Linked DNA regions of Homo sapiens: regions 1, 3, 4, 5 and 6 are each linked to region 2. Evidence: promoter capture Hi-C in 16 types of primary human blood cells and fetal thymus (Javierre and others, 2016). All regions are on one chromosome and are shown on one strand. Each heading gives the region's core, a stretch centred on a gene start or on the middle of the fragment in contact. The rest is flanking DNA. Distances are from core to core; before and after follow the strand shown.

Region 1 (2,831 bases), core at 293-2,792, 550 kb after region 2:
TATTTTCAGGGTAGCAATGTGCCCTATCAAAAATACTCATCTTCCTAGATTCCCAGAATTTCAGCTACAGAAGGCCAAATAACCAAGTTCTGGCTAAAGAGATATCGGTAGAAATTAATCAATGGGCTTCTGGGAAAGATAAGATAGATGCGGCTGGCATTGTCTGGAATGCGGATGTGATGTTTGGGGGTGGAGCAACCATCCTGTGAAACAAGAATGAAAGTCACACACGAAAGATGGAGAATTAGGAGCTCTAAGCAGCAGCTCAATTCTCGACTTCTTTCAGCAACTACATTTGCCTGGAACTCTCTACTCTCTGGACTTCTTGTCATGTGAGAAAAGCAAATTCCTCTTAAGAAGTAAACATTTATCAAGAGTGCTTAGAACAGGGCATGGTTCATAGTAAAATGCTATATAGGTTTTGCTAATAAAATACATGTTTGCTTTAGCCACTGTAGTCAGGCTTCTATTACAAACAGCCAAACACAACATTTGCCAATATACATAGGTATTGCCAACATGCCAACATGTCATTATTCCGCTTTTTTTTTTTTTTTTTGAGATAGAGTCTCGCTCTGTCACCCAGGCTGGAATGCAATGGTGCGATCTCAGCTCACTGCAAACTCCATCTCCCTGGCTCAAGCAATTCTTCTGCCTCAGCCTCCCAAGTAGCTGGGACTACAGGCGCGTGCCACCACGCCTGGCTAATTTTTGTATTTTTAGTAGAGACTGGGTTTCACCATATTGGCCAGGCTGGTCTTGAACTCCTGACCTCGTGATCCGCCTGCCCTGGCCTCCCAAAGTGCTGAGATTACAGGCATGAGCCGTCGCGCTCAGCCTCATTATTTCACTTTTATTCTAGCACCTTGCACAGCGTATGGTACTGAATAAGTATTTGTTGAAAGAATAAGCCGTTCAGTGGGGTTTGAGGAAAGATGAAGGACCCTAAAATCATGTGACTCTATTTATATACTTATGTAATAAGCTTTAACTCTGTAGAGGAACAACAGTTCCCTTTCTTTGTATAATAGTAGCCCTTGGTCTTTTGAGGATAGATGAAGGGATTCAATTAGTTTGGCCTGAGATACCCTCCCACAGAGTCCCAGCCACTTTGTTATCAGAGCCAAGAGAGAAGCATAGGTTAGCATCAACCTCTCTGCCAAACGACTCAGGTAGGACTGAGGCAGTTTCAGACCTGGGCAAAATGTTGAGTAAAACTCATCTTAGGGTCCCCACAATGGAAACAGAACATGGATAACTATCATTGCAAACATCAGTGGGCATGAGACCATCAGAGTTAGAGCTGAGTGCAGGAGGTCTGAGAAATCACGTGGCTCAACCCTCCCCTCCCCAGAATGTTCTGGAAGGGAAGAGGTTCTAGACACTAGCACAGAGAAACATATATACACACACACACATACACACACACACACACATATATACATACATATACATATATATATATATATTTTATTTTTTTTATTTTTTTTGAAATGGAGTCTCGCTCTGTCACCCAGGCTGGAGTGCAGTGGTGTGATCTCGGCTCACTGCAAGCTCCACCTCCTGGGTTCATGGCATTCTCCTGCCTCAGCCTCCCGAGTAGCTGGGACTACAGGCACCCGCCACCACACCCGGCTAAATTTTTTTTTTTTTTGTATTTTTAGTAGAGATGGGGTTTCACCATATTGGCCAGGCTGGTCTTGAACTCCTGACCTTGTGATCCGCCCCCCTCGGCTTCCCAAAGTGCTGGGATTATAGGCATGAGCCACCGCGCCCGGCCAGAGAAACGTATTTTATTTACCTTGATCCAGATCATTAAATGCTTTGTCCACCAGGGGTCTTAGAAAAATAATTTGACCTCTGGCTGCTAGCTGAAAAAAGTCTAGAATTTAGCCTTCTGTGTTTTCTCTTTTGACTCTTGGTGAAGTATCACTTTTAACACCAAATAGAATTTCCCTTGAATGTGGTTATAAAAATAATGGTGAAAAGAAAAATCCCACTTCAGCGAAGCCCGCCAGCACACTGGCCATCCTAGTGAGGAGAGCTGCTCAGGTTCTTGCATTCTTTTATTGATTGGTTCTAAGTGAGATTATTCACCATGAAGCTTGATATCATATAACAGAGGCTACAAAAGCATTGTATGTTCTCACGTCAAAGACAATGCTAGTCACAGAACATCATAGGATTTAAATGGGGACTGGGAAGTTTTAAATAAATACAGTCAGAGCATAGGGGAGTCTGCAACATGGGGACAGATTTAAAAGGTGAGGTTCCACAGCGGGGACAGGAAGTGGCTGGAGGACGTGCCCGTGGCTCTGATGAGGCCCCGTCATCATCTCCCAAGCAAAGGCATAGACAAGGTAGAGGTGTGTTGAAGTGTTTGTATACTTTTTTTTCTCTCATTTAACAAATATTGATGGACCATCTGCCCTGGGTCAGATGCTGAGCTGGGGTCTGGGGTGACAATGATGAAGGAGGCACACCCAGCATGCTTCCTCACAGAGACAGCTGCTCAGAACCCTGTTTCTCACAGCACAGCCCTGGACCAACAGTGTCCGAATCGCCTGGGAGCTCTCAGGCCTTGCCCCAGATCCACTACCTCAATATCTGCTTCGTAACAAGACCCTGTGGGAAACCAGGATATGCCACCCCCAAAATAGGAAGGATTGTTGAGATGAAGACAATTCAGAAGAAACAGAGGCAGTAAAGCTCTCTGCCCTCCCTCTATTTGTCTAAAAGCAGGACGTAGATTTACAAAGACAAAACGTATCTTGCCTCCCCCCTTCTACCAGGGAGAACCACTGAAAACAACTTAAGACGCTTATGCTCCT
Region 2 (3,223 bases), core at 140-2,639:
TGGAACATCTCCATCAAGGCAGAAACTGCTAGTGAAAAGTGCAGCCCTAGACTTAGGCATACTTCGCTCCAACGTCCCGAATATCCTGAGATAAGAAACTTTCCATAGCACAATGAAGAGCATTCCATTCTTGCAAAGTACTCTCACGAACTGTTTCTCATAGGCAAATTCAGCCTCTTTGAAACATTCACCAGAAATTCCCCAAGTTTTGTCCTTCAAGTAAATCTTTGCAGGGCGAATTTAATTCCTCTTCCAGAGTCTGCCCTTCACATATACTAAGACCCCAGGTCCTCTCCTTCCAAATACATACATACATATATACACATACATATACTTATATACACACATATGTATATACATATATATACACACACATTTCTTTCTACCGAAATAACTTAACATTTCTATTAGCCTCTTGGAGAAATGCTAATTTATCCACGTGTACAGTAATACTACGTCCAGGATCGTCTGAGTGTCAAATATTACATATCACTGTCTTCATAACTTCACTCTCACGTGTGAGACCAAGTGTCCTGATTCTCTGAGAAAATAAGGTCACAGTCATTCTGAACTCCTAAAACGTGGAGAGCAAAAGCAGAGCTAATATGTACTGAGCAGCACCTGGCGCTGTTCTAAGCGTTTAACGTGTATTTTCTCATATAATCCTCACAATTCTGAAATAGGCTATAAGATCGCCATTTTACAGACCAAAACAAGGCAAAGACAAGCTAAATAATTTCCCCAGGGGTCACAGACGTGAGCTCACCCCACAGAGAACACAGCGGATCTTTTCCTCTTTCTGGATGCTACACTCCCACTAACTACCTAACTCTTCTCTCGCCGTGCCATAAAGCAACAATTTCCCTCTTTAATGATTCCTCCGGCAGCCCCCACACTACCTAGACGACCCGCGCACCCCGCTTCTCAGCACAGCCCAGCCCCCCTCACCCCACGCCCACCCGCCAAAAGGGAGGAGTCGAGAGGCAACTCCACGCTCGGCAGCGGAACCAGGGCGCTGCGCCCGGCCAGCGCCTCCCACAGCCGCCCTCCCTTCAACACTCCGGCGTAGACCACGAAGACCCAGGCAGCCGCCCTCGAGCCGGGGCCAGGGCGTGGCCGGCGCGGGGGCCCAGCGACGCTGGGATCTCCGCTCTGCGTCCCTCCCGGCTCTCTGACGTCTCCCCCGCCCGAATCCCCGCACCGCCCCCCGCAAGCCCTACAACCTCTGCTTTAAGAACCCTTGGAGGCACTGCTGCGCTTCCCGCGAGGAGAATGTGGGGGTGGAGATGGTGCGGTTTCTGCTGCTGCGGCCCGGGACACGCTTGGAAAGGGGCGGGGTGGGGGACTGAGAGTGTGGAGTGTAGAAAGGGAAAAGGTGACTCGGCTGTGTGACGGGGCGATGGGGGGGGTACAAGATGGCGTGAGCCCGACTCTCGGTGGGGCGGGGGTTGCGGAGACTGAGGAGTAAGCGATACGGACGCCCCCCGCACTGGCAGTGCGGGCGCATGCGCGCTTGGCCAGGTGGCGCGCGCTCTCCCAGCCCGAGCGAGCTACTTCCGCCACGCTCGCCGGGGGCGGGGCGTTGTGCGCGGCCTTCAGGGCCCGGCTTGGGCAGCGCTGAGCCACGCGGCGGCGTTTAGAGCTGGGGACGCTGGGAGCGGAGTGGGGACGAGCTGAGATCGGTCAGGGTGTACAGGGTGCAGGCTTGAATTCTTTAGGAATTGGGCCCGAGAGGGCTAGGATTTTTGAAGGATTGGGTGACCGGCACTGGAAGTTGATTTTCAACTCCGAGGAAGAGATTCACCGTTCTAAGCTTCTTTCCAGGAATTGGAGTGAACGGGATCTTAATGGGATTGCGCGTTTACAATGGTGAAGGGAAACGGAGGGGTCTGAACGCTCCCCGCAGGGCCGCAGTACAGGCGTGTGGATGTGGAACCCTTTCTGGGACGGCGAAACCAGCTCTTACGCCGCTTCCGCGCGCCATCACTCCCTACCCTGACCTCGCACAGAATCTGTTTCATTAATCTGCTATTAATGTTTTTTCCCCAACTCATGTTACTAGACGCAGGCGTTTAACTACCATGTTTTGTTATTGAAAACTTTTTCTACTTGAAGGCTTTTTTTTTTTTTTGGACGATTCTGTGTTTAGATTTTGGCCTGTTCCTCATTTTAAAATCTTGCACCCCCAGTATTGTACTGTACATTCTGTCCTGCCACATTTAATTGATATAGATGTAGTTCTTTAAATAATACAGTAGTCGTAAGACAATGCTTTCAGTCTTTCACTCTTTATATTATATGAAGTCTTATTTATATTTAACATTCTTATTGCCTGCTTAGAGAAGAAAACTGGTTATCCATGCTCACCTTCACACCTGTGTTGTCAAATACTATAAAATACTGTATTTTATAGGGATTCAAGTATTAACCCTCACCAAGTCTTTTTAAGCATCACTGCTTCAGTTATTTTCTTGCCTATAGATACTGTGAGTTCTGAAATCCCTTCCTTCTATTTGCTTAAATTGTTTAAAATAGCAACTTATTTGGTTATTTCCTCTGTGGATTGTAGTTGAGTCTGCTAGTGTTGTGTTTGATTCTCTTTAATCTCCCCAACGCTTCAATATTTGCCAAATACCTAAAATTCCAAAAGAATAGATATATTTAGGATGTGAGAGCTCAGCTTGATGTGTAAATCAGGGATCAATTCATTGCTGAGCAAAGTGTGCAGTATAAGGGAAAGTAACAGAGTGAGTATGGTGATAACTTCTTACATGGGAAGACTGGTTGAAAGCTCTTTTGAGTACATTACCAAGAAATTAGTTAACAGAAGATTAAGAGAAAAATTAATGTTCACATCTAAAGAAACATAAAAGTAGATCATTTCAATTAAAATTATGTTCAGTTAATGTTATCATAGAAGTTCCTGCACTGGAGTTTCACCTGCATCAGATGAGTACCTGTTTGATCCAGTTTATCAGGATAGAATCCAGATCATCTTATTCTAGGATACTGGTGTCCAGCCTGCATAAAATCACACACAGGCCAGGCGCGGTGGCTCACGCCTGTAATCCCAGCACTTTGGGAGGCCGAGACGGGCAGATCACAAGGTCAGGAGATCGAAACCATCCTGGCCAACATGATGAAACCCCGTCTCTACTAAAAATACAAAAAAGTATCCGGGCGTGGTGGCACGTGCCTGTAGTCCCAGCTACTCGGGAGGCTG
Region 3 (2,970 bases), core at 42-2,541, 760 kb before region 2:
GATCTGTATTGACCCAGTCTGTGGCTCCATCCTGCAGGTATGGGCTTGTTACTTTGCACTTGTACATGATTTAGTCCCTGGGCTAAGTCCCAAGTGTGAGGCCAGGGCAGGTTGTGGTACAGGCCCCACAGGCAGCTCTCATGAATGCAGCCCAGTTCCTGGCACACAGCAAGGGCTCAGTAACTCCAGCTCAGGGGCTTAAGCTTCTTAATGTGAGTGAAAACAGAACGGAAAACGCACCTGAAGCACAACAGGCCCTGTCTTTCACCCACAGTGGGGTAAGGACTTGCTCCTTGAGGACTCAGAGGCATTAACGATAATGAAGGGTTCCAACCCAGCTGAGTTCTCTGGTTTTTGGTTCCTCTGTTTAGAAATGCCATGTTTGTGGCTTCAAATAAATCAAGAGATTTGAACCCAAAAGATGGGCAATTTGGCAGGGTTTCAAACCCACTTAAAACTACAGCTCCAAATTTAGATGTGATCTGGGAACTTGAGTTTCAAGTTCCCCTTGACTTGGGCAAAGCCTGAATTTCAATCTACTGCACATTTTAATTTATCCGTTCTCATCTTTTTAACTTCCCCAAATTTCGCTCTCCCTTTTTGGAACTCATCACTCTGGTTGTGTTTCTCACGTGGCTGTTGCTGTGACTTCTCTTGCGTTGTTTTCTGTTATCATCACACAGACCTTATACTCTGCCTTTCAGTCTTATCTCCTGGGCTGGGCTGGAGACACCTTCTGGGCAGGGGCTGTCCTCAGGCCTCTTTCCTTTCCCCTCCGTGAGACTTGCCCAGGGTCCAATACTCATGGGTCACAGTTAAGGACTGAGGGTTGCTCCGTTGTAAAGCTAGGAACTGGAGGAGGTTATGTTCCAACCAGATTTCCAGAGCCTTGGCTTCTGATTTGGTTAAGTATTCCTTGGAAATAAACAAATAAGCAATGCAAACATCTGAAGAGCAGTGGTTTGAGTTAAGGAGTGTACAAAATTTAAGAAAAGTCTGATGAAGACAAAGCCATGTGCTGGGCAAAATCGAATCAATCCATAATAGCTTTCTGTCACTCCTGCCATGCCAATACTGCCTGAATTGTTTGTCTACAGCTTGTGGGAGGCTAAAAGAGTCAAAGGTTAGAATTTGGCACATGAGATAGAACTAGAGTTCAGATCACATGCACCTTTTCACACCTTCACACTTTTGGAGAAACAGTGTATTTGTTTGGTTGGGCTGCCATAGCAAGGTACCACAAACTGGGTCGCTTCAACAACAGAAGTTTATTCTCTCACAGTTCTGGAGGCCAGATGGCCAAGATCAAGTTGTGGGCAGGGTTGGCTCCTTCTGAGGGCTGTGAGGGAAGCCTGTTCCTCGCTTCTGGTGGCTTGCTACGACCTTTGGTGTCCCTTCGCTTGCGGACCTCTGCCTTCGTCTTCACATGGTCATCTCCCTGTGTGTGTCTGTGTGTCTGTCTGTGTCTAAATTTCCTCTTTTATAAGGACATTGATCATATTGGATTACGGGATCATCATACTCTGTAGTATGGCCTCATCTTAACTGATCACATGTGCGATGACCCTATTTCCAAGTAAGATCATATTCTGGTGGTACTAGGGGTTAGGATTTCAACATTAATTTAGTGGTGGTGGGTGAGCATATTTAACACAGTGCAACAGCCTTCTTATTTGAATTTATTGTTCTCCAAATCAGGGTTTATCCATAGAATTCAGTCTGTGCCATACCTATGGATTGGATAATAAACATCTAGAAGAAGCTAAAGGCAGGAGTCCCTTTTCTCCTTTTCTACCCAGTGATCCATCCATCCATCCATCCGTTATCACACACGTGCACACACACACACACACTTTATATAGGTGAGACTCTAGGGGTTCCTTACTGGAAGCCCCTGTCATCCAGGGACACTACTTGATGTCTTACTTGCATGGATTTGATGAGCTGCCTCAGAGGAAGAGCTATAAGGACTCTGAAGTAAGGCCTGGGTTCAGAATCCAGCCCTGCACTTACTGGCTCTGTGACATCAGTGACACCTTCCTCTTTGAGGCTTGGTTCTTCATTTGCAATATAGCAAATACTAGAGCAGACCCTATAGGTCCCTGAAAAATGGTGGCATTTATTGACGTTATTATTGTTGAGTGAGCCAAGGAGAGAGGGACAGAGTGGAGGCATGGCCTATCTTCCAGCTTCCAGAAGCTCACCACCAGGCACTCCTGGGGGCGCAAGTCCAAAGCTGTCACAGAGACTGCCTCATCTGGACTGTCTCCCCAGTTCCAGAGCTGTGGTTCTTAATCTTTTGGGGAACTGGATCCCTCTGGAAATCTAATACAATCTGTGGACTCCTCCCCAAATAGCACCTGTGCATGGAGTGTCCTCAGAAGCTTGCGTGTGATTGTGGCAGGTTTGCGTCTCCACTTGAGACCACCCACGGAGGCTAAAGTTTCCACTTCAGAGACAACAACCTGAGAAATTCATTTGCTCATCCAGTAAACATTTCTTGTGTGACTGTCACATGCCGGGTGCTTTGTGGGGGACCAGGATGTCACGGAAAAGTCAGATAGGAGACCTTTCCCCAAACTGCTCACAGGCAGCAAAAACCATAATGAAAAGTAGAAATGATTCAATATTATAGCAGACATATGGCTATATTTTTTTTGTCCCAGTTCAGAGGAGGACATTATTTCTACCATGGAGGGTGTGAAATAATCAGGCAGGTTCAGTGGAAGGAAGGATATTTGAGTTGGAAAATAACAGGTGAGTTAAATTTTGTTCTTAAAGGACATATTGGTATTCCCAAGGTACCCATCCCGACAGTTGACACAAGTGCACGAATATCTGTCTGCTGGTGTTTGCCTTCACCTGAATGTAACTTAGCTGCTAGATTCCTAAAACGCTGCACCTCTGATAAGAAGCCAGTTCGTGTTCTTTTCTTCAAATATGGGCTTCCAATTGTATCACTTCTATAAC
Region 4 (3,184 bases), core at 590-3,089, 700 kb before region 2:
TGTAACGAGACCTGCCCAGCAGAAACCAGGATACTCCTGGAGTATTCAGCCAAAGCGGATAACAACCATGAGCTCAACCCCTTGTGGACAGGATGTAGAACAGATTATTAAGTAGGGCTTGCCAATACCTAGAGAAATAAATAGTAATAAAACTAGCTAACATTTGAGCTTTACATGTGCTATTACTAATTCAGTGCTCATAACCACCTTACGAAATTGGTATGATGATTTTTATTGACAAATAACATTTGTACAAATGATACTTTGTTACATGCATAGAATGTGTAATTATTGAGTCAGGGTATTTAGGGTAACTACTGACTCAAGTATTTACCATTTGTATGGGTTGAGAACATTTCAAGTCCTCACTTTTAGCTATTTTGAAATGTACAATACATTGTTTTTAACTACAGTCACCCTACTCTACTACTGAGCATTAGAACTTATTCCTTCTCTCTAACTGTATGTTTGTATCCATTAACCAACCTCTCTTCGTCCTCCACACCCCATACCCACAACCTTCCTGGCCTCTGGCATTCTATCATTCTACTCTTCACGTCCACAAGATCAACTTTTTAAAAAGCTCCCACACATGAGTGAGAACATGCGATGTTTGTCTTTCCATATCTGGCTCATTTCGCTTACCATAATGACCTCCAGTTTCACCCATGTATGCTCAGCAAATGACAGGATCTCATTCTTTTTTATGGCCAAATAGTATTTAATTGGCTATGATGATTACTTGGACTCTGCAGATGAGGATATTGAGACAGAGAATGTGGTTAACAGCTTTGCCCAGTGCCACGCAGGTAGCAAGTAGCAGAGCCAGGATCCACACCGAGGCACCTGGCTCCAGGGCTGTGCCCTAACTGCTGCGCCACACTGCTTCTCCTGGGAGTGCCCCCTGGAGAGAAGCATGAATGCACTGGGAGAGAGTGTGTCCATGCATCCATGTTGCCCTCCTGGCAGGGTGCCAGGATTAGCATATCAGTAAAAGACAGTAGATACGGGGTTTCTGGACAAGACCAGAGAACTATACTGTGTGGTTGGGACAGTGACTGGTTGAATGACTGTCTTCAAGGGGAAGCAGTGACTGGGTTGGTGTTACCCTGGAGGGGCACGTCCTTGAGGAGGGCCACAGGGCATGGAGTTTGCCACCTAGAACATTGGAACCAAACATTCCAACAAAGATGCCCTCAGCCTTGGCCCACTGAGCATGTTCGTCAGTGACTCGGATACTCAGGGGTGAGGCTGTGCCTACTGAGTCTGCAGAGGCAGGAGGGAGAGCCGGTGCAGGCCATATAGACCTCTGTCTCCCAAGCTGGTGGTCTCCCTGGAGGAGGAGAGAAGACGATTACAAGCTTCAATGAGATGACTTCTGGCAAACAAAAGCAGTCACCGCTTAGCAGAAGGAGGCATTTATTGGCAGGTAGGACCTGGCTGGACGCAGTGGGGATGCTGGTTTTGTGGTCTCCTGTCCCAGTCCTAGACACTCTGGAGCCTGGGCTTTAAATCCCATAAGGCCGCTGGCTGAGTCAGCCTCAAAGAGCTGCTTAGCCTGTAGGCTGCTTCCTGTGACTGGATCCCTCAGAAGTAATATCAGAAATGAGATTTGTGAGCAGAGGCTGAGCTGGGAGAAGAGTCGGCTCTGTTGGCTTGGTTTGCACTGTCACCTCCAACCCATGTGAATGCCTGTGAGTCTCCTGTTAAATCCCCTCCAAAGCCTCAGCTAAAAGACATCCATGTCACTGCTACTTACGTATTAGCAGGAATTAGTTTCTTGGTTCCCAGGCCAAGGACTAAGAAGCACCCAAGAGAGGCTAAGGAACCGCCCAAGACAGACTGGCACCCAGGGGCCTCTGCAAAGCCAGATGGGAGGATGGATTATCTCCCATTGCTGTGGAACCACGAACTCTGTGGCTTAAAACAACACCCACTTATTATATCACAGTTCTGTAGGGCGGAAGTCTGGTACAGCATGGCTCAGCTTAGGGTCTCACGGTCCAAAATCAAGGTATCCACTAGCCTGGGCCCTGATCCAGAGGCTGTGGAAGAGAATTCAGGATCTAGCCCCTTTCTGATGTCATCCAAGAGCCTCTCTCTGCTCTGTAAAGCCACTCTCGCCACTGCTCCCTCCATCTTCAAACAGCAAAAGTGGGTCAAGTTCTTCTCACACTTCCAATCTCTCTGACTTCCCTCAGCCATATCTCTTCTGCCTTTCTCCCCTGCCTCATCTCTCTGACTCCAGCCAGAGAAAGTTTTCTGCTTTTAAGCCCCTCTGTGATTAGAATGGGCCATGTTTTCATGTAACTTGTGGCAAGCTTTTATTAAAAAAAATTTTCTTGTAGCATGTGTTGACCTACAGCTGGAATTCCATGTATGGGCTTAAAAAAAAAGATCTCAAAAGACAAAGGATAGAGAAGAGGTGGTAACTGGTGACAGCATCATTCCCTACCCTATGCACACACATGCACATGTGCACACGCATACATGCACACACACACAGACCCGCACATACGCACATGCTGGGTGCCTGCATTGCACTATTCCTGGAATATAACACACACTAAGTAGATGTCATGAGTAACATCACAAGCCACCGCAGCCTAGGGGTATCACAGCCCCCACATAACAGTGACAAAATAGTATCTCTTCACTCGTGCATCAACTGTGTGCACCACTGCCAGGAGTGCTAGGCCCTGTCTCTGTCCCTGCCTCACAGTTTAGCTGTAGAGAAGGATGAGTTACCCCTAGAACATAGTGTCAGGAGGGGCATGATAGGAGTCAAAAGAAAGTGTACAAGCCCTAGTCCGAAGAGCTGAGGGAACATCCCAGTTTCCGCTCCATGAACACTTTTCCCTGCCTTCATTCTCCTGGAGTGAAGGTATCCACCAGCTTGGACCCTTATCTGGAGGCATGATCTCCCTGCCCCCATGACTCCACTTCCAAAAGGGATGGATGACACGTCACCCCTGCAAGAAACCCAGGGCTGGCATGGCAGAGCTGCTCAGGGTCATGCCTGCCTGTCAGCTGACTGTCCCTGCTCCAGGGTGTGTGTCTCAGTGTGTCTGTGTGTGATCTATTCTAGAGTCATGCACACACACATACACACTCATGCACGCACGTGTGCACACACACTCCAGGGCTTAGTGCCAAGATCCCTTATCCCCTCTCTGTCTCCTCC
Region 5 (2,888 bases), core at 26-2,525, 520 kb before region 2:
AATCTCCAAATTCAACAATTCTTCAGCCTCTGTAAACTTTCAAATGGAAAGCTCCAATATTTAGAGTAAATAATGTCTAAGCTTCCCCTTCATAGCAAGTTTTCTTTTTCTCTCCTGTCATAAGAGTGTTATATCCTGGCAAGTGAAATACAGAACCCCTTTGTAGTAAAGCTATCATACTATACCACTCAGAATGTGGTGCTAATGAGGTTATTGCTTAATAGAACCATAGAAGGACATTGAAAAAAGAAAATACCCTGACAAATGTGTTGACCAAAGGATACCAACAACTCTCCTAGGGTCCTGTCCGAAATTCAAGGATTTAAAAAAGTAAAAATGAACTTTAGTGTATGTGAAAAATCATAACATTGAAACATAAGTCCATTTATCTTTTAACTATTTTTCTAGTTCTCTTCCAAAATTTTGCTGGTTATTAAAACACTGCTGTGTAAATAAAAATGTTCTGCTTTATAACTTAACCCCATTTCTTGTCCTTACAATATAATAATGTCATTGTTTGTTATATCACACTTATTCTCAAAGTAATAGGGCTTGATTTAAAGGACTTTAAATAGCACATTGAGGAAGGGCTTCTGCAGAAAAATGAGATTGGGGAATCAAACACAGAATGGGGAATTCAGAAATGGACTATGAAGGACTTCTATTATTCTGAGAGTCCTAAAAGAGTTTATATACCATGACTCCCACTGAGATAAGCACAGCTCTTCATAAACACTCTTAATAAACATCTGCTAAGTGGGCTGTCCCAAGGCTGAACTGTCCACTGATAAGGTCGTGGGGAATTTATTACTAGAATTTCAGTGAAGCCATTCAAATTCCCAGACTGTGAATATAGTTGCAAATAAATGAACTCATTTCATTAATACATATCCTCTGCCCTGATGAGTAAATGCCCACTTTTGCGTCTCTTCAGAGATATTCACAATCAACTGCTTCATGTACCCAGCTATCCTTAGTCATTCAGACCACCAAAAATGAGAGCTTGCAGCAGTCTATAACATCACCACTCTCACAGATAAAACACAACATACCCTATAATTAGAATCACAGACTGTAGGAGCTCGAATGGGCCTTAGAAGTAATTTAGTTCAACCTTCTCATTGTACAGTTGAGCTTGAGTGACTTTTCCAAATGTTATTCAACCAGTTAATGGCCGGACTGGGAGTAGAACCAGGTCTCCCGACTCTTATTCAACTGCTTTTGCCATTATAACAGGATTCAGCCATGACATACTATTTAAGCAAGGTCAGTAAACAGACACTACTAGGACTTAATGGCAAGTGATTTCATTAACAACAAGAGGCTGTAACAAAAAACTCCCTGTATCTAATTCCTAAAAAATTCAAGTTGAGGGATGGTAACTTGGTATTCTAGCCACTAACATAAAAAAGCAAAGAAACTATATGGACTAGAAACCAATTCTAAAAGAATCTTTTTAAAAAAAGTCTGCATTAATAAGATTAATAAGGATATACTCAATGTAGAACATTTATTCTACTTGGGTGATATATATTTTTTTAATCTCACCTATTGCACCTGCATAAGAGTGAGGAATTTCTGTATTAAACAGTAAAAGTTTTCTTTTGCCAATGATGTACATTATACTGCAGAAAAGAACTAGATTGAGAATCAAGAGTCCTGGGTTCTGCTATTAATTCACTGAGATACTCTAATTTTCTCATTTTCTCAGTCATAGCTTTCTTTTGTTTTGTTTTGTTTTTTTATTTTTTGGATACAGGGTGTCACTCTGTGATTCAGGCTGGAGTGTAGTAGCACGATCACAGCTCACTGCAGCCTCAACTTCCTGGTGATCCTCCTGCCTCAGCCTCCTGAGTAGCTAGGACTACAGGCAAGCACCACCACACCTGGCTAGTTGTTTTATTTTTGTAGAGATGGGGTCTTCCTATGTTGCCCAGGCTAATCTCAAACTCCTGGGCTCAAGTGATCCTCTCACCTCAGCTTCCCAAAGGGATTAAAGGCATGGGCCATGATGCTCAGCCACAGTTTTCTTTTCTTTTCTTTTTGTTTTTTTTTGAGAAGGAGTCTCACTCTGTCGCTCAGGATGGAGTACAGTGGCACAATCTTGTCTCACTACAACCTCCGCCTCCTGGATTCAAGCGATTCTCCCGCCTCAGCTTCCTGAGTAGCTAGGATTACAGGTGTCTGCCATCACGCCCAGCTAATTTTTGTATTTTTAGTAGAAACAGGGTTTCACCATGTTGGTCAGGCTGGTCTTCAACTCCCGACCTCAGGTGATTCACCTGCTTCAGCCTCCCAAAGTGCTGGGATTACAGATGTGAGCCACCACCATGCCTGGCCCCAGCCACAGTTTTCTAATATAAAAATTGAAAGGGTTGATTTTTAACAGTGTGCTAAGAAGGGCCCTGGAAGTTTCCCAGAGTTGTCCTAGGAGCTGACAAGAGGGGCTAGGGAAGAATAAGGAAGATACCAAGCTTGGAAGTTCTGTGTTTTCCACCCCAACCTCAACTGGGCAGTTCTGCTTTGATCTGATTTTAATATTAAGCTAAAATGTAAGATCTTGTTTGAAGAACAAGTTATGTGGCTGAAGTTTCAAAGCCACTGAAAAGTTGACAGTACCTATAATACACCTTCTGACTCTGATGTTCGCTTAAAAGCCCTGCAAGGACACTACCTTAAGGATTAAACCCAAGCTCCTAAATACAGCATTCTCCATGCCTCAGCCCCCGCCTCTCCTTTTCTTCTCATCTCCAGCCATTTCTCACCATGTACTTCATGCTTTAAGCATTTCAAAATGTTGGTAATAACCTGACAATGCAGTGCTGTTTCACACCTCCTTGGAACTCACTTTTGCTCATGCTCCTTCTGCAATTTGCCCCCTTCTCTGC
Region 6 (2,894 bases), core at 120-2,619, 910 kb before region 2:
TGTCACCAAACAGTCAGCTGGGCGAGGTCCCTTTCCACCTAGTTGACCTGGGTGCAGTGAGGGTGGCACTTGTCATCCTCTGGTGTGGTCAGTGGAGTGGAAAGAGCTTTGAGTTCCTGCAGGCTCTACCATGAAGGAGCTGTGTGACCTTGGACAGGTTACTTCCCTTCTCCAAGCTTTAGCTCTTCACCTGTAAAGGGGGGCCCTCCTTTACTGGGTCTCGAGAAGGTGAAATGGAAAGTATCTAGGCCCATTCCTGGCACGCAGCAGGCCTTCAGTCGGTGGTAGGCATTACTGTCATTTAAAACATTCATACACGGGAAACAGAAGCAAACCACTGTTACTGCGGGGTTTTCTGTTACAGCTGAACTAAATTCCAATGAACACACTTACTTTACAGATAAATTCCACACTTTGGAAAGGAATCCAAAGTTACAAGCCCCACATTTCCTATACATGGCCTAGTCTCCAAATGTGTTTCATATTTTAGCAAAATCACCAGCACTCTCTCAGTGGACATTCTCTGCAGTCTTTAACAGTCAGTCTTCAAAGCCCATATTAAGAAGGTGGTGTGTCTAAGTCCTGGCCAGTGGAACAGAACAGGAATGATGAGTGCAAGAGACGTGTTCTTAAGATGGGAGAGGCTGTACCCTCCTTATTCTCTTCTGCCAGCTAGAGGCAGACACTAGAGGCTCGCAGCCCTGTGGCCACTGTACCTGCCACAAGGAGACACTGGGAAGGGTGGCCAGGCATGAGGGAGGACAAGACAGCAGGGGCCCAGGTCCACATACACCAGGGAGTGCCACGCCAGCCCGGATTGACCATCTCTGGACTTTCTGAATGTGCAAAGATATCCCTAAAGAGCATAATTATTTTCCCCAATGCAGAACTTAACATTGCTGGTGGTGGAACCAGGCCTTCAGGAGCGCCTGATGCGGTTGGGCCAACTGTGAATAACGGAGAGAAACAGGAAGAGGGAACACTCCGGCCAATATTACTTTTCATGTAAAGTAAATCTTTTCATTAAATAATGGTAAAAGTCAAGAGAAAGACTTAATTACTACCTTTGTGTTTATAAAACTTTGTTTTATAAAACTTGATGTAACTATGGTCAAGATAGGACAATATTTAAAGAAATAAAAGCACCAAGGTACAAGGTCAGCACAAAAAGTTGTGCTGATTAAGGGAATAGTGTCATCCCCAAGGGCGGTATCTGGCGGTGTGCCCCAGACTCTGCCCTTGACCCAGGACTGCTTAACATTCCAAGCATTCACTTGCAGGAAAGCCTAAAAAGCACACTTATTACATTCCGGGATGATTTGAAGCTGGTCAGGAGAGCTCATGATTTGAAAAATATTGCAGGATGCAAAAAGTATTTTGACCAAACAGAATGATGAGCTGAATGTAACAGTATGAAATGAGATAACGATGAATAGAAGAATCTGACAGATTTGGGGCCTAGATACCAATGGCCTCTGTATAAGACTAGAAGGGGAATTGTGTTCAGTTATGAACTTTGGGGGAAACAGAATCATCAGGGCGAAGAGATGGGAGTCGTGGTTGGGCGGAGAGCTGGTGGGGCGTGGGAAAGTGATGTAAGAGCCCCGTGTTAGGTGCCTCGGGCTGCCGTAACACAGTGCTGCACACTGCGGGCTGAAACAACAGACTTTACTGTCTCTCCGTTTTGGAGGCTAGAAGTCCAAGGTCAAGGTGTCATCAGGGTTGGCTCTTCTGGGGGCTGTGGGGGAGAACCTGTTCCTTGCCTCTCTCCTGGCTTCTGACAGTTTGCTGGCAATCTTTGGCATTCATTGTACTGTAGCTCCATCACCCCAGTCTCTGTTTTCATCTTCACATGGCATTCTTCCTGTGTGCTTGCCTCTGTCCATGCTTCCCTCTTTTGTAAGGACACCAGGTGTATTGGATTAGGGCCCACCCTAATGACCTCATTTTAGCTTGCTCATCTGCAAAGACCCTATTCCAGTTAAGGTCACATTCACAGGTATTGGGGTTAGGACTCTAACATCTTTTTTGGAGAAGACACAGTTCAACCTGTAGCAAGCCCTTCCCCAATTTGAAGGGCTGTAACATGCAAGAGGCTTAATTTTCTTTCATGTGACCCCAAGGAAGAGAAGCAGGGCCATGGAAGCAGATTCCAGTCCAGCAAGAAGACCTCAAAGTATTAATTCATTGTTTGCTGTGTAGCTCCAGGCTTCTTTCCTCTCTCAGTTGTGCCCAACAGCAATTTTTTCCCCTCCTGCCCCCATATAAGCAAAAACAAAGATTCAAATAAACCACTGACCATATATTTAATAATTTATCATCTAAACTGGGACACTTCTGAGAGTGGTAACAGTGCAGGTGGTGAAAGCAGTCCAGCGGGACATACATTCACTAAAGACTATATAAATGGGTAAGAATTGGTCTGCTTTTCATTATCACCATGCAGCAGTAATCAGCAATTCTGAACTATATCAGTGATAACCTACCCCCTCCTTAAAAAAAAATCTTTAATTGGTTTAACTCTTAAACAATTGCTGTGGTTACTATTGTGTTAATATACATGTAAGCTTAAAATTGGCTTGTTTTAATTTCTTACTTTTTTTTTTTTTTGAGAGGGACTCTAGCTTTGTCGCCCAGGCTGGACTGCAGTGGCACAATCTCAGCTCACTGCAACCTCCACCTCCCAGGTTCAAGCGATTCTCCTGCCTCAGCCTCCCAAGTAGCTGGGATTACAGGCACCCGCCACCATGCCTGGATAATTTTTGTAGTTTTAGTAGAGACGGGGTTTCATCATGTTGGCCAGGCTGGTCTCGAACTCCTGACCTCAGGTGATCTGCCCACCTCAGCCTCCCAAAGTGCTGGGATTACAAGCGTGAACCACTGCGCCTGGCCTA

What was found. The method cuts DNA at HindIII sites, captures the fragments that hold promoters and counts their contacts. A CHiCAGO score of 5 or more calls a contact.
Region 1: a fragment that was not itself captured here is called in contact with the fragment with the promoter of SUPT3H in region 2 in 1 of 17 cell types (M2 macrophages); the score reaches 5.2 in M2 macrophages.
Region 3: a contact is called between a fragment that was not itself captured here and the fragment with the promoter of SUPT3H in region 2, in 1 of 17 cell types (monocytes). The highest score is 5.6, in monocytes.
Region 4: a contact is called between a fragment that was not itself captured here and the fragment with the promoter of SUPT3H in region 2, in 1 of 17 cell types (M0 macrophages). The highest score is 6.1, in M0 macrophages.
Region 5: a fragment that was not itself captured here is called in contact with the fragment with the promoter of SUPT3H in region 2 in 1 of 17 cell types (total CD4 T cells); the score reaches 5.3 in total CD4 T cells.
Region 6: a contact is called between a fragment that was not itself captured here and the fragment with the promoter of SUPT3H in region 2, in 1 of 17 cell types (M0 macrophages). The highest score is 5.1, in M0 macrophages.

The regions. Positions count from the first base shown.
Region 1 is chr6:45,924,776-45,927,606 of GRCh38, forward strand. All of the region lies in intron 4 of CLIC5 (chloride intracellular channel 5), which reads right to left. Among named protein-coding and RNA genes, the nearest start is that of CLIC5, 90 kb to the right of the region's middle. RefSeq lists enhancers at 1,952-2,616, 2,617-2,831. The HindIII fragment of the contact is 1,119 bases long and covers 984-2,102 here.
Region 2 is chr6:45,376,545-45,379,767 of GRCh38, forward strand. SUPT3H (SPT3 homolog, SAGA and STAGA complex component) reads right to left here and starts at 1,390. Exons shown (of 11, transcript NM_003599.4): 1 at 1,224-1,390. All of the region lies in intron 2 of RUNX2 (RUNX family transcription factor 2), which reads left to right. RefSeq lists silencers at 1,032-1,311, 1,632-1,681 and an enhancer at 1,322-1,865. The HindIII fragment of the contact is 7,128 bases long and covers 1-1,811 here.
Region 3 is chr6:44,618,038-44,621,007 of GRCh38, forward strand. No RefSeq gene overlaps it. Among named protein-coding and RNA genes, the nearest start is that of MIR4642, 180 kb to the left of the region's middle. RefSeq lists an enhancer at 2,770-2,970. The HindIII fragment of the contact is 2,181 bases long and covers 202-2,382 here.
Region 4 is chr6:44,675,431-44,678,614 of GRCh38, forward strand. No RefSeq gene overlaps it. Among named protein-coding and RNA genes, the nearest start is that of MIR4642, 240 kb to the left of the region's middle. The HindIII fragment of the contact is 960 bases long and covers 1,360-2,319 here.
Region 5 is chr6:44,859,350-44,862,237 of GRCh38, forward strand. All of the region lies in intron 10 of SUPT3H (SPT3 homolog, SAGA and STAGA complex component), which reads right to left. Among named protein-coding and RNA genes, the nearest start is that of MIR586, 340 kb to the right of the region's middle. The HindIII fragment of the contact is 2,393 bases long and covers 80-2,472 here.
Region 6 is chr6:44,463,510-44,466,403 of GRCh38, forward strand. No RefSeq gene overlaps it. Among named protein-coding and RNA genes, the nearest start is that of MIR4642, 29 kb to the left of the region's middle. The HindIII fragment of the contact is 2,391 bases long and covers 175-2,565 here.